3 separate regions of the Homo sapiens genome follow, and all the other regions are linked to region 2. The links are contacts of gene promoters, found by promoter capture Hi-C in blood cells and fetal thymus (Javierre and others, 2016). All regions are on one chromosome and are shown on one strand. Each heading gives the region's core, a stretch centred on a gene start or on the middle of the fragment in contact. The rest is flanking DNA. Distances are from core to core; before and after follow the strand shown. Region 1 holds the start of KIF2A (kinesin family member 2A). Region 2 holds the start of CENPK (centromere protein K). Region 3 has its middle 2.6 kb from the start of IPO11.

The links. The method cuts DNA at HindIII sites, captures the fragments that hold promoters and counts their contacts. A CHiCAGO score of 5 or more calls a contact.
Region 1: the fragment with the promoter of KIF2A here is called in contact with the fragment with the promoter of CENPK in region 2 in 3 of 17 cell types (naive CD8 T cells, total CD4 T cells and total B cells); the score reaches 10.4 in naive CD8 T cells.
Region 3: a fragment that was not itself captured here is called in contact with the fragment with the promoter of CENPK in region 2 in 9 of 17 cell types (total CD4 T cells, naive CD8 T cells, non-activated CD4 T cells and 6 more); the score reaches 13.2 in total CD4 T cells.

The regions. Positions count from the first base shown.
Region 1 is chr5:62,304,307-62,308,332 of GRCh38, forward strand. KIF2A (kinesin family member 2A) reads left to right here and starts at 1,900. Exons shown (of 21, transcript NM_001098511.3): 1 at 1,900-2,230. The coding sequence starts at 2,167. RefSeq lists a silencer at 1,604-2,633. The HindIII fragment of the contact is 9,341 bases long and covers 1-4,026 here.
Region 2 is chr5:65,561,811-65,565,616 of GRCh38, forward strand. It overlaps CENPK (centromere protein K), which reads right to left and starts at 1,358. Exons shown (of 11, transcript NM_022145.5): 1 at 1,288-1,358. It overlaps PPWD1 (peptidylprolyl isomerase domain and WD repeat containing 1), which reads left to right and starts at 1,486. Exons shown (of 11, transcript NM_015342.4): 1 at 1,486-1,696. The coding sequence starts at 1,501. RefSeq lists enhancers at 613-1,274, 995-1,134, 1,275-1,935. The HindIII fragment of the contact is 1,930 bases long and covers 274-2,203 here.
Region 3 is chr5:62,408,355-62,411,902 of GRCh38, forward strand. No RefSeq gene overlaps it. Among named protein-coding and RNA genes, the nearest start is that of IPO11, 2.6 kb to the right of the region's middle. The HindIII fragment of the contact is 4,608 bases long and covers 1-3,548 here.

The DNA.
Region 1 (4,026 bases), core at 650-3,149, 3.3 Mb before region 2:
AGGCACGACAGAGTTAGACTTCGTCTCTAATAATAATAATAATAATATTTTATGAAACAATGTTAACTTTGAGCTGTATAGCTTGATTTCTTTGCATTCTTTATAAAGTATAAATAAAATATAAATAGATGTTTTATACCTCAGTTGCAGAGACATCAGAAAATGAATTCTAGACAGGAGCTTGAAGAGTTCAGATAAAACTCCCAAAATTATAGAAAAAATAAAAACTAAACCCTGATTTGGTCAAATTTCACTTGAAACCGGGGTACTCAAGTGTGTCATTTCTGGAATGTAAAAGAAGTTATTTTCCACATTGTCTATCCAGTGTGGTTTTTTTTCCATAGAAATTATATGCACTTTAGAATGGATTCAATAGAATTGTTCTTTTGACAGGTATACCTTCAATATGTTCAAGCTACAGATGAAGCCAGTCTTTTAACAGTTTTTTAAGGACCTACATGATTACTTACATTAGATAGAAAACTCTAGGCACACATATATCCACATAAGCATTGATGTATATATCCAGTTTCCAATTTTAAAATTTTAAATTGTATATTTGTAGTTATTGTTACAGGGAGATTATCAATGACTAGGGAAGGCCGGGCGCAGTGGCTCATGCCTGTAATCTCAGCACTCTGGGTGGTGGAGGCGGGTGGATTACCTGAGGTCAGGAGTTTGAGACCAGCCTGGCCAACATGGTGAAACCCCGTCTCTACTAAAAATACAAAAATTAGCCAGGCGTGGTGGCGCGGGCCTGTAATCCCACCTACTCGGAAGGCTGAGGCGTGAGAATCGCTTGAACACAGGAGGCAGAGATTGCAGTGAGCGGAGATCGCGCCACTGCACTCCAGCCTGAGCGACAGAGCAAGACTCCCCCTCAAAAACAAACAAAACAAAACAACAACAACAAAAAACAATGACTAGGGAAAGTAGGCCATGAAAAGTGTTGTTTCCAACCTATCAATTGCCAGTACTACAAGCAGGAGTTAGACGTTTGGAGGTTTTCACACGGTGCTATAAATACAGTTTCCAGGGCCCCGGTACACGTGGCCTTCCTGCTCTGCCAGGATGGAGAGTCTTGCTTTCCACATTGCTGATGTGGTCAGACTAATTAAATTATTGCAAAAAGACACATTCCCTAGTCAACCTTATGTGTCTGCCTTCTTCCCTTGAGTCACAGTTGTTGGCTTTACAGGCCAAGGCAAGTAAGTCTTGAACCCTCAGCAGAAACAGGGCACCAGCATCGGATGCCTCATAACCTGAACAGTTAAGGACGCCCCACCACAGAGCTTCTTTCTGAGTGTGATAAACTATAAGGCAAGACTGTAAAGGGGTGGATCTTCATTTCGATTTAGGGTAGGTGACACCTCAAGGGTGTTTCTTCCCTTCCAGCGTAACTGGATGGGAAACCTACACCAAGTGTGCTTGGGAGGGCTGCTTGGGTCAGCTACCTGTAAGTGGAAATAGGGGGTGCCACCTTCCGATGAAAACCCGGATCCCGTACTGTCAACGGAGGGCCCTTGAATTCACATCCCTCAGCCCGCTAGAAAGCCCCTGAAACCACGTGGCCTTTAACCCATTCCGGCAACAGCGCCAATTCCCGGAAGCGAGAGGGCAAGAAAGCTCGGCGCGACGCTTCCCGCGTCTTCTAGGCCGCGCGCTGAAATCAAACGCGACGCCGGCTAGCTGTGGGCCGGGCCGAGCGCTCAACGCTCCAGCGGCTGGGTAAGCCGCGGCCGCCGCCCACCCCGCTGCAGAGCTGGGCGGGGCCGCCTGGAGGCAGCGGGGAGAGGCCAGCCGAAAAGGAAGAAGAGACGCCGGAGGCGCGCTCTGCGCAGGCGCGCGGCGCCCCGCCTCCCCAGCGTCGGCTCCCCGGCGGGCGGTGCGGGCCCTCCCACTCTACCCCGCGCCGTCTCACGGCCCCGGCCCTAGCTTCACCCCGACTACCCGGCGTGCGCGTCCTCCTGCCGGCCTGCAGGCCCGGGGCCTCCGCCTGCTTCCCCACAGCTGCTCCTTGCGGCCCCGCTTGCGTTCACGCTGTCGCCCGGGCCGGCGCGGCCGCGGGCAACCGCTCCCCCTCCCACACCTACCCCGCCCCCTCCCCGCCTTTTCCGCCCTCCGGTCCCCCTCCCTCGGCCCGCTGCTGCTGCTCCAGATGAGGTGATGGCAACGGCCAACTTCGGCAAGATCCAGATCGGGATTTACGTGGAGATCAAGCGCAGCGATGGTGAGCCGCGCTGCCAGCCCCGCTGGCCCGCTCGGCCCCGTGTTCGGGTGTGCACGGAGGGGACGCGGGCGCCGGCCGCCTCATTGATTGCTTCGCCGGGCTGTGGGGGTGGGAAGGCGGCGGCCGCGGCGCTTTTGTGTGTGGCGTGTGTGCCAGTGAGGCCGGCTTGGGGTCCGCCCGGGCGCTGCTGCAGTTCTCCGGATCGGGCCGCGGGGGAGGGAAGCCGGGTGGGGAAAGGGCCCGGGTGTCGAGGGTCGCGTCTCCGGGGGTCTCTGGGCGAGGGCCGCTCGCTCCTCCTCCCGCAATCTCCAGCCCCCCCCCGGGGACACCAGCCCGGGAGGGAGCGGGCTTCGTTAGGGATGACCCTGCCTCGCGCTTCCCCTTGGTCTTTGCATTTTACCGGCTTGGCCTCTGACGGGGATGGGGATGGGGGTGGGGGAGCGGGAAGACCAGCGATTTCACATTTAGAGAACCGACTGCTGGTCGGAGGCCGAGATGGGGGGAAAGAGCCAGTTCCGTCGCCTTAAACTGCCGTCTGGTTGTCAGGCCTCCCCGGTTTCGTCGTCGACCATGCTGCTTTCTTTTTTGCCACTTCTTGGGAGAAAAATGTGGAGAATATCGCGCTGAGCCATGAATAAGGGTGGGGGAGCAATGGGAAGAAATATTCGATGGGCTTCTCCAAGGTGATGAGACTGTAAAGGGAATGATAGGGGATGGGCAGAGTCAATGCGAGGCACTGCTGAGAGAGTGGGGGTGGGCGACCGGATGTTGATATTTTCACACCCTCGGGAGAGGTAACTGAGAAAAGTGTAAGGCGAGGTGAAGACACATGCTTCATTTTTTTTTTTAAGAGCCTTAGGCTTATGTATCTTTCTCTAGGTTTCTCTTGGGGAAAATGGTTTATGACACTAGCTTGGGGTGTGGAGTGAGATACGCCAGCCAGACTGGAAATAATTCATATTGTAAAGGAATAAATGCACGGAGGGAGATAAGTAAAATTATTTTCTTTCGGTACCAATATTGAAAGAACGAGAGATGTGTGATAATCTCGAGTTGAGCAGTGTTCCTGACTCCATCTCTCATACCGATTCCTTTTTTTTTTTTTTTGAGACGGATTTTCACCCAGGCTGGAGTGCAGTGGTGCGATCTCGGCCCACTGCAACCTCCGCCTCCCGTGTTGAAGCTATTCTTGTGCCTCAGCCTCCTGAGTAGCTGGGATTACAGGCGTTGTCACCACACCCAGCTAATTTTTTGTATTTTTAGTAGAGACGGGGTTTCACCATGTTGACAAGGCTGGTCTCGAACTCCTGACCTCAAGTGATCCACCTGCCTCGGCCTCCCAATGTGCTGGGATTACAGGCGTGAGCCATCGCGCCTGGCCTCGATTCCTTTTATGAGTGCCTTATTTATTAACCTTTAGCCTAGCCTAGTCAGTAGTAACTTGGCTGTCACGTCCACGTGCCCCTTGGATTCTGCCAGGTTTGACCAAGTTACGTGAAGCTAGATTGATTTTCATGTTGTGTGTATGATATATTGGAAGACCCTATATAGCTAATGATTTTTTCCTCCGTTATATTTGAAGTAATTTGTGGTAACAACTGAAACCATCGTTATCCTGTATATGAAAAGATAAATTATACCGCTTAGAGCTTTAGAAATTACCAATAACACTAATGGGAAAGAGATACCTTCTTTACTTGGGTTGAGGTTTCTTTTATATTTTCTCTTCAGATTACTTTCTTGAAAGAGTGCTGTTAATGTCATTTTTTTAGGTAAATACGAGTTCACAGTATACC
Region 2 (3,806 bases), core at 108-2,607:
ATTAATATACATGAAATAAGCAAAAAATACCCACATAATTCTAAAATACATTCATTTATTCAACAAATATGTTAATGTGTGCCATTGGTCAGACACTGGCTTTAGCTGTGTAGATGAAAAAGTCTTTGTACTTGTAGAGCTTCCATTCTCATGCAGACAATATAAATGAATGGATAACTAAATACATGATATGATTTCAGGTAGTCAGAAGTGCTATGAAATGGTAAAGTATACAACACTGCCTGCAAGTACTATCGGAATTCAGGATAGGGAAGCTTAGAAAAACCAACCCGGAAGGAATTAGTCCATAATAATGCTTAATAAATGTTAACTAGCTACATTATTATTATCATTATCATTATCATCTTCATCCTCATTATTGCATTGGTCTCTGAAAGATGAGAAGCTGTAAACATGAAGGCTAAATCGCTGTGGAGATGCTTTCAAGCATAAAAACATAAGAGTAGGAGGCAAGAACGAACAAGGGAAATTTGTGAGACACAAAAGAAAGTAGTCTGATGAGAGCAGAGGGCAGAGAAGAAATGAGACTTGCTAGGTAGAATGGTCAAATAATGGGAACCTTTGAAATAAAATAAAGTGCCTACTATGGGGGGGCAGTTCCTTCCCTGTACGTGGTGCCTATCTCAAGGCAAAAGTAGAGAAGAGATTTACGACGAGGATTTTATTAGGTTGGTGCAAAAGTAATTGCAGAGAAAAAAGAAGTGTTTTACGGAGGTCATTTTGACAAGCTGTATTTGATTTTTTAAAAAAGAGATTAAGATAATACATTTTATGTTATGTGCTTTTTACCTAATTTTTTAAAAATGAAGAAGACAGATGAGGAGGAGGAGAAAGAGTTCAGATGACTGCTAGGAGATGAAATCCTATACCAGAGAGAAGAAAGAAGAGTGACCCGTTCTGCCCTAGGTCTTTTGGTTATTTGAAGTAGCTGCTTCTCCACCCCACCCCCAGAAACAGTAACAAGCACTCACCACCTTCTTCAGAGAGTGTGTGAGAGAATAAAGGTCAGGAGAGAAAACATGTTTAGTGCATCTGAAAGGAAACCCGCGAGTTAACCACTTCCTTCTGTCCCCACCCTTCCATCTTTCTCTAAATATTGGTGAGGTTATGGAGCTTGCGTTGGCGCGCGGGAAGCCGAGAAGAACGGGACTCAAAGCCCGGCTGGGAAGTCAGGTATCTAGTTGGCCGGCGATAAGGGTTTCACCTTCAGGACTGGAGCTCCACAAGATTCAACCGTTATATCAACCTCCCCGGCCCAGGTCTTACCATCACAGCGTCACAAACTCCAGGTCGCCTAGGCGCTGCGCAGGAAGCGCTTGCCAGCCCCGGACTTCTGCGCGCGCTGCATGCCCATTGGATGTGCTCATTCCCACCCCAGCCAATCCCGAAACTCGCTCGGACGCTGACAGAAGACTGCGCCGCTGCTTTGGGATTGGTAGCTGAGTTTTGTGTCGCGCCTTTTCTGACGATGCGAACAACATGGCGGCGGAAAGTGGTAGCGATTTTCAGCAGAGACGTAGAAGGCGCCGGGACCCGGAGGAACCGGAAAAAACAGAACTCAGCGAAAGAGAGCTGGCAGTAGCAGTGGCGGTGTCCCAGGAGAACGATGAGGAGAACGAAGAGCGCTGGGTTGGACCTTTACCTGTGGAGGCAACACTGGCCAAGAAGAGGAAAGGTAGCTGCAGACATAGTACCGGGACGAATTGGAGTGCTGCGTCCGCTGAGTAGGAGGGTTCAAGCCAGATCCGAAGAGGGATGATGTGTGGAGTTTTGTGCCCTCAGAACAGAGGGCCGTCCTCTCACTTCTGGCTACTCCATACTTGCATGTCTTAACGAAATAGTGATTTAAGCGTAGTACAACGTCTTTTTGATAATATCTAACACTTTTGATCATTGATTTGTTATGACAGATGCTAAAACTAACATTTTCCTATTCTTATGTGTTTGGCTCCTCTCATTTACTCCCCACAGCAGCCACATGAAGTTGGAATTTCGAACTCTTATTTAGGTATGCAAAAGGGTACCAGTTCTCTTTAAGGCTTTAGTTCAGGAGTGGTGTTAATGTATTAATGTGTTGGGGCGCGAGAGGAAGGCGGTGCTTATTTCGAATCATGGTAGGTAAAGATAATTTCAACTCTGACACTTCCACTAATAAATTTTCGCATCTAGGGAAAATGACGTAAGCTTCCTAGATCACAGATTTGTTTTCATCCAAAACCCGAAGTCTGTGGTTTTGAAATCACGCTCTTGATACGATGGGCTGAGTCTTTTTGTCACTAACGAGGAATAATCACAAATTATTATCAAATAAAAGGGGTGGGAAAAGGGGTAGATTAAGTTTTCTTGTCTTTGTTGTTTTGTTATCTTGTTTTTCTGTGAAATGTTTTCCTTAAGTATTTAAGACATTTTAAATGTGGTCTAAGCTCAAATCGTACTTTAGCACCTTCCCTTAAAAAACTTCAATGATTTGTCATTATTTTCTCTCTCTTTTTTTTTTTTTTTTTTTTTTTTGAGACGGAGTCTCGCTCTGTCGCCCAGGCTGGAGCGCATGCAGTGGCGCTATCTCGGCTCACCGCAACCTCCGTCTCCGGGGTTCAAGCGATTCTCCTGCCTCAGCCTCCCGAGTAGCTGGGGCTACAGGCGCACGCCCAGCTAATTTTTGTATTTTTAGTAGGGACGGGGTTTCACCATGTTGGCCAGGATGGTCTTGATTTCTTGACCTCGTAATCTGCCTGCCTCGGCCTCTCAAAAGTGCTGGGATTACAGGCATGAGCCACGGCGCCCAGCTCATTATTTTCATTAAAGCCCAAACTCCCTCACATGGCATATAAAGCCCTTTATGATGTGATCTCTCCTTACCTTCTTAGTGCATCTTCCATTACCTTCCTCTCCCAACCCCTTACTTTGTACTCCACCCATTCTAAAATCACTCGAGAATCGGTCTTGTACTTTTTTTTCCTCTGGATTCCTACCCAGATATGGTGTTTCTACCGGGAATAATTTCCCTCAACTCTTCCACTGAACTGACTTTTGGTCAACCTTTAGCACTTAGCTATCATCTTCTCTGGGAAGCCTGTGACTTCTCCAGTCTGGACTGGATTTCTGAAGCACTTTGATCATAACTCTGAGGTAGTTATATATCAATACTGAATTTACAGGTAGCCTTCAAATTTTATGTATCCAAATTTTGAAGAAGCTGTTTTTTTGAACGTTGTATATTGACACCCTTACAGTGCATTATCATTTTTACTTCCTGGTCCTCTTATTAAATGTTTCCATAGTAACCATTTTATTTATGGCACTTGCCGCAGTTTCTAATTATATATTTATTCATGTGATTGATGAATGTTTCTCTCCACTGCTAAGACTGTAAACAAGTAAGAACCAGAATCACGCCTTTTTTGTTTCATTGCTTGGTGTACAGTGCTTTGCCTAAGTATTTAATGACTGCATATTAAAGCTTTTATGCTGGTCTTTAGCTATTTTGTTGCATATGAATATTTTTGCAAGTTCTTTTTTAATTAAACGAGTAAGGAGAAATGTAAAAATCCAGAAATATCGAAATGCTGATATTAGTGTTACCGGACAAGTGTCTTATAAACTTAATATAACGGAGACAGATATAAATTAGTAGGTGTGAAAATCTTTCCTCTTAATCAGTTATTTATTGTTTTAAGACAGCCAATAGTTGGCCGGGTGTGGTGGCTGATGCCTGTAATCCTGGCACTTTGGGAGGCTGAGGCGGGCAGATCATCAGGTCAGGAGTTCTAGACCAGCCTGACCAA
Region 3 (3,548 bases), core at 581-3,080, 3.2 Mb before region 2:
AAGTGGTGCATGCTCCTAATCCCAGCTTCATTAAGGAGACTGAGATGGGAGGAACACTTGAGCCCAGGAGTTTGAGACCAGCCAGAGCAACATAGCCAGAGACCCTGTCTCTAAAAGCAAAAAAGAAAAAAAAAGCCCTTTTCCAAGTTATTACACACTCTGAATAATTAATATTGAAAACTGTTGGCCGGGCGCGGTGGCTCACGCCTGTAATCCCAGCACTTTGGGAGGCCGAGGCGGGGCGGATCACGAGATCAGCAGAACGGCGTGAACCCGGAAGGCGGAGCTTGCAGTGAGCTGAGATCGGGCCACTGCACTCCAGCCTGGGCGACAGAGCGAGACTCCGTCTCAAAAAAAAAAAAAAGAAAGAAAGAAAACTGCTACAGAAACTTTCACCTTGTGAATGCGTAAGGGTTTACTAAATCCTGCCTATTCCATTGTTCTTATAAAAATAGAGCCATAGACATTTTAGTTTATACCTGGAAAATATTTTCAGTACTTTGAATTGGTTCTCTAGTATAGATTTCCAGGCATGGAATTATTTACTCAAACTGCGTGAACATTTTAGTCTTTGAATATAAATTGACAAATTATTTTCTTTTTTTATTTTTTGAGACGGAGTCTTGCTCTGTTGCCCAGGCTGGAGTGCAGTGGCACAATCTCTGCTCACTGCAACCTCTGCCTCCCAGGACTGATTTACATAATCAGTCCTTATGGAAATAATAAACTTGTTTCAAGTTTATTATAAACAAAAATGAATCTAGGAATTATGTTAATTTATAAGCATCTAATGAGCTGTATTATAATGTAGAGTTATCCAAGACTCAATTTTATGCAAGTTAAAATAATAAATGAAGGGTAGCAAATTAGAGAGCCTATAACTTTTGAGCATATATTCTATTGCTGCTTCAGCAAAGTACCACAAACCTAATTAGTGGCTTAAAACAAGATACATTTATTAATTTAGAGTTCTGGAGGTTAGAAGTCTAAAATTGTTTTCATGTCTGAGTTTCTTCTGGAGGCTGTAGAAGAGAATCAGTTTCCATGACTTTTCCAGCTTCTATAGGCTTTCTGCATTCCTTGGCTCATGGCCCTGGCATCCCTCTGACATCTATTATACTGGCATATTTTCTTTGTCTTGGACACTCCAGCGTCCCTCTTATAAAGACCCCTCTGATTACATTGGACCTAGAGGATAATCCAGCATAATCTTCCCATAGTAAGATTATCCTGGATAATTTAATCACATTGGCAAAATCCCTTTTGCTCTGTAAAGTAACATATTCACAGGTTTTGGGGATTAGGACATGGACATCTTTTATTCTACCTACCAGGAAACATAGATCTAAATTTGTTTAGAAATGGAGAACCTCGAGCCTCACCTCAGACTAAATGAATCATGAACTGTATTTTAACAAGATCCCTATGTGATTCTATGAACACTTAAAATTTGAGAAGTACTATCTTTGTTTTTTATTTTTTTTTGAGACAGAGTTTTGCTCTGTTGCCCCCAGGCTGGAGTGCAATGGTGCAGTCTCGGCTCACTGCAACCTCTGCCTCCCGGGTTCAAACCATTCTCCTGCCTCAGCCTTCCGAGCAGCTAGGATTACAGGCATGTGCCACCACGCCCAGCTAATTTTTGTATTTTGGGTAGAGACGGAGTTTCTCCATGTTGATCAGGCTGGCCTCGAACTCCCGACCTCAGGTGATCCGCCTGCCTCAGCCTCCCAAAGTGCTGGGATTACAGGTGTGAGCCACCTCTCCAAGCCTGAGAAGTACTATCTTTCAATAAAATCAGAAGATACAGTTAAGCAAAAAGAAAATAAAGCATGGTCACAATACCCATCCAACTAGTGATAAACCCTCCTAGCATTTTGGCATTTATTTATTTCCAAAAGTGGGACATTCTGAACATAATGTTTTGCAACCCTCTTTTTTCACAATGCATTGTGCATGTGTAAACATGTCAACAAATACACTTCAAGATAATTTTATTTTGTTTAATTAATTAATTAATATATATTTTTTTGAGACAGAGTCTCCCTCTGCCGCCCAGGCTGGAGTGCAGTGGCACGATCTCGGCTCACTGCAACCTCTGCCTCCTGGGTTCCAGCAATTCTCCTGCCTCAGCCTCCCGAGTAGCTGGGATTACAGGTGCCTGCCACAAAGCCCAGCTAAATTTCTGTATTTTTAGTAGAGATAGGGTTTCACCATGTTGGCCAGGCTGGTCTCGCTCTCCTGACCTCCAGCAATCCACATGCCCCGGCCTCCCAAAGTGCTGGAATTACAGGCATGAGACACTGCGCCCGGCCTATTTATTTTTTCTTGAGATGGAGTCTCGCTCTGTCGCTTAGGCTGGAGTGCAGTGGTGCGAACTCGGCTCACTGCAACCTCCGCCTCCCGGCCTCAAGCGATTCTTCTGTCTCAGTCTCCTGAGTAGCTGGGATTACAAGCGCATGCCACCACGCCAGGCTAATTTTTGTAGTTTCAGTAGAGACAGGGTTTCACCATGTTGGCCAAGCTGGTCTTGAACTCCTGACCTCAGGTGACCTGTCCGTCTTGGTCTCCCAAAGTGCTGTGATTACAGGTGTGAGCCACTGTGCCCGACCTCAACATAATTTTAAATGGTCAATTTGTATTTTATTATGTATGGATGTATTGTGATTTAATCATTTGTGTCATTGGTGGTTGTTTAGGTAATTTTATCTTTTTACTTTAAAAAACAGCCCTTGTGTGATCGACATTCTTGGAATGCAGAGCTTGGTTCAAATCCTAACATGGCCTTTTACTAGCTGTTTGACGTTAGGTGGGCTACTTGACTTCTCTGTGCTTCAGTTTCTTCATCTGTGAAGTGGACATAAAGAAAATACCTACCTCATAAGGGTTGTTCTGAGGATTAAAATAGATAATTCCCATAAAGATCTTAAAACTGTACCTGGAATATTCTAAATTAGCAATAAAGGTTTTCTATTATTAATATTTTTGAACACTCTATTTCCTTACAACTTCTTTTACTATTATTATTATTATTTTGAGACGGAGTTTTGCTCTTATTGCCCAGGCTGGAGTGCAATGGCGCGATCTCGCCTCACTGCAACCTTTGCCCCCAGGGTTCAAGCGATTCTCCTACCTCAGCCTCCCGAGTAGCTGGGATTACAGGGGTGCACCATCATGCCCAGCTAATTTTTTATATTTTTAGTAGAGATGGGGTTTCTCCTTGTTGGTCAAGCTGGTCTCGAACTCCTGACCTAAGGTGATCTGCCCGCCTCGGCCTCCCAAAGTGCTGGGATTACAGGCGTGAGCCACTGTGCCTGGCCTTACTATTATTATTTTTAAGAAATATATAGTTGGTGTGTATTTTTAATTAATTTATTTATTTTGAGACGGAGTCTATTTATTTATTTATTTATTTATTTGTTTATTTATTTTGAGACGGAGTCTCGCTCTGTTGCCCAGGCTGGAGTGCAGTGGAGCAATCTTGGCTCACTGCAACCTCTGCCTCCAGGGTTCAAGCGATTCCCCTGCCTCAGCCTCCTGAGTAGCTGGGA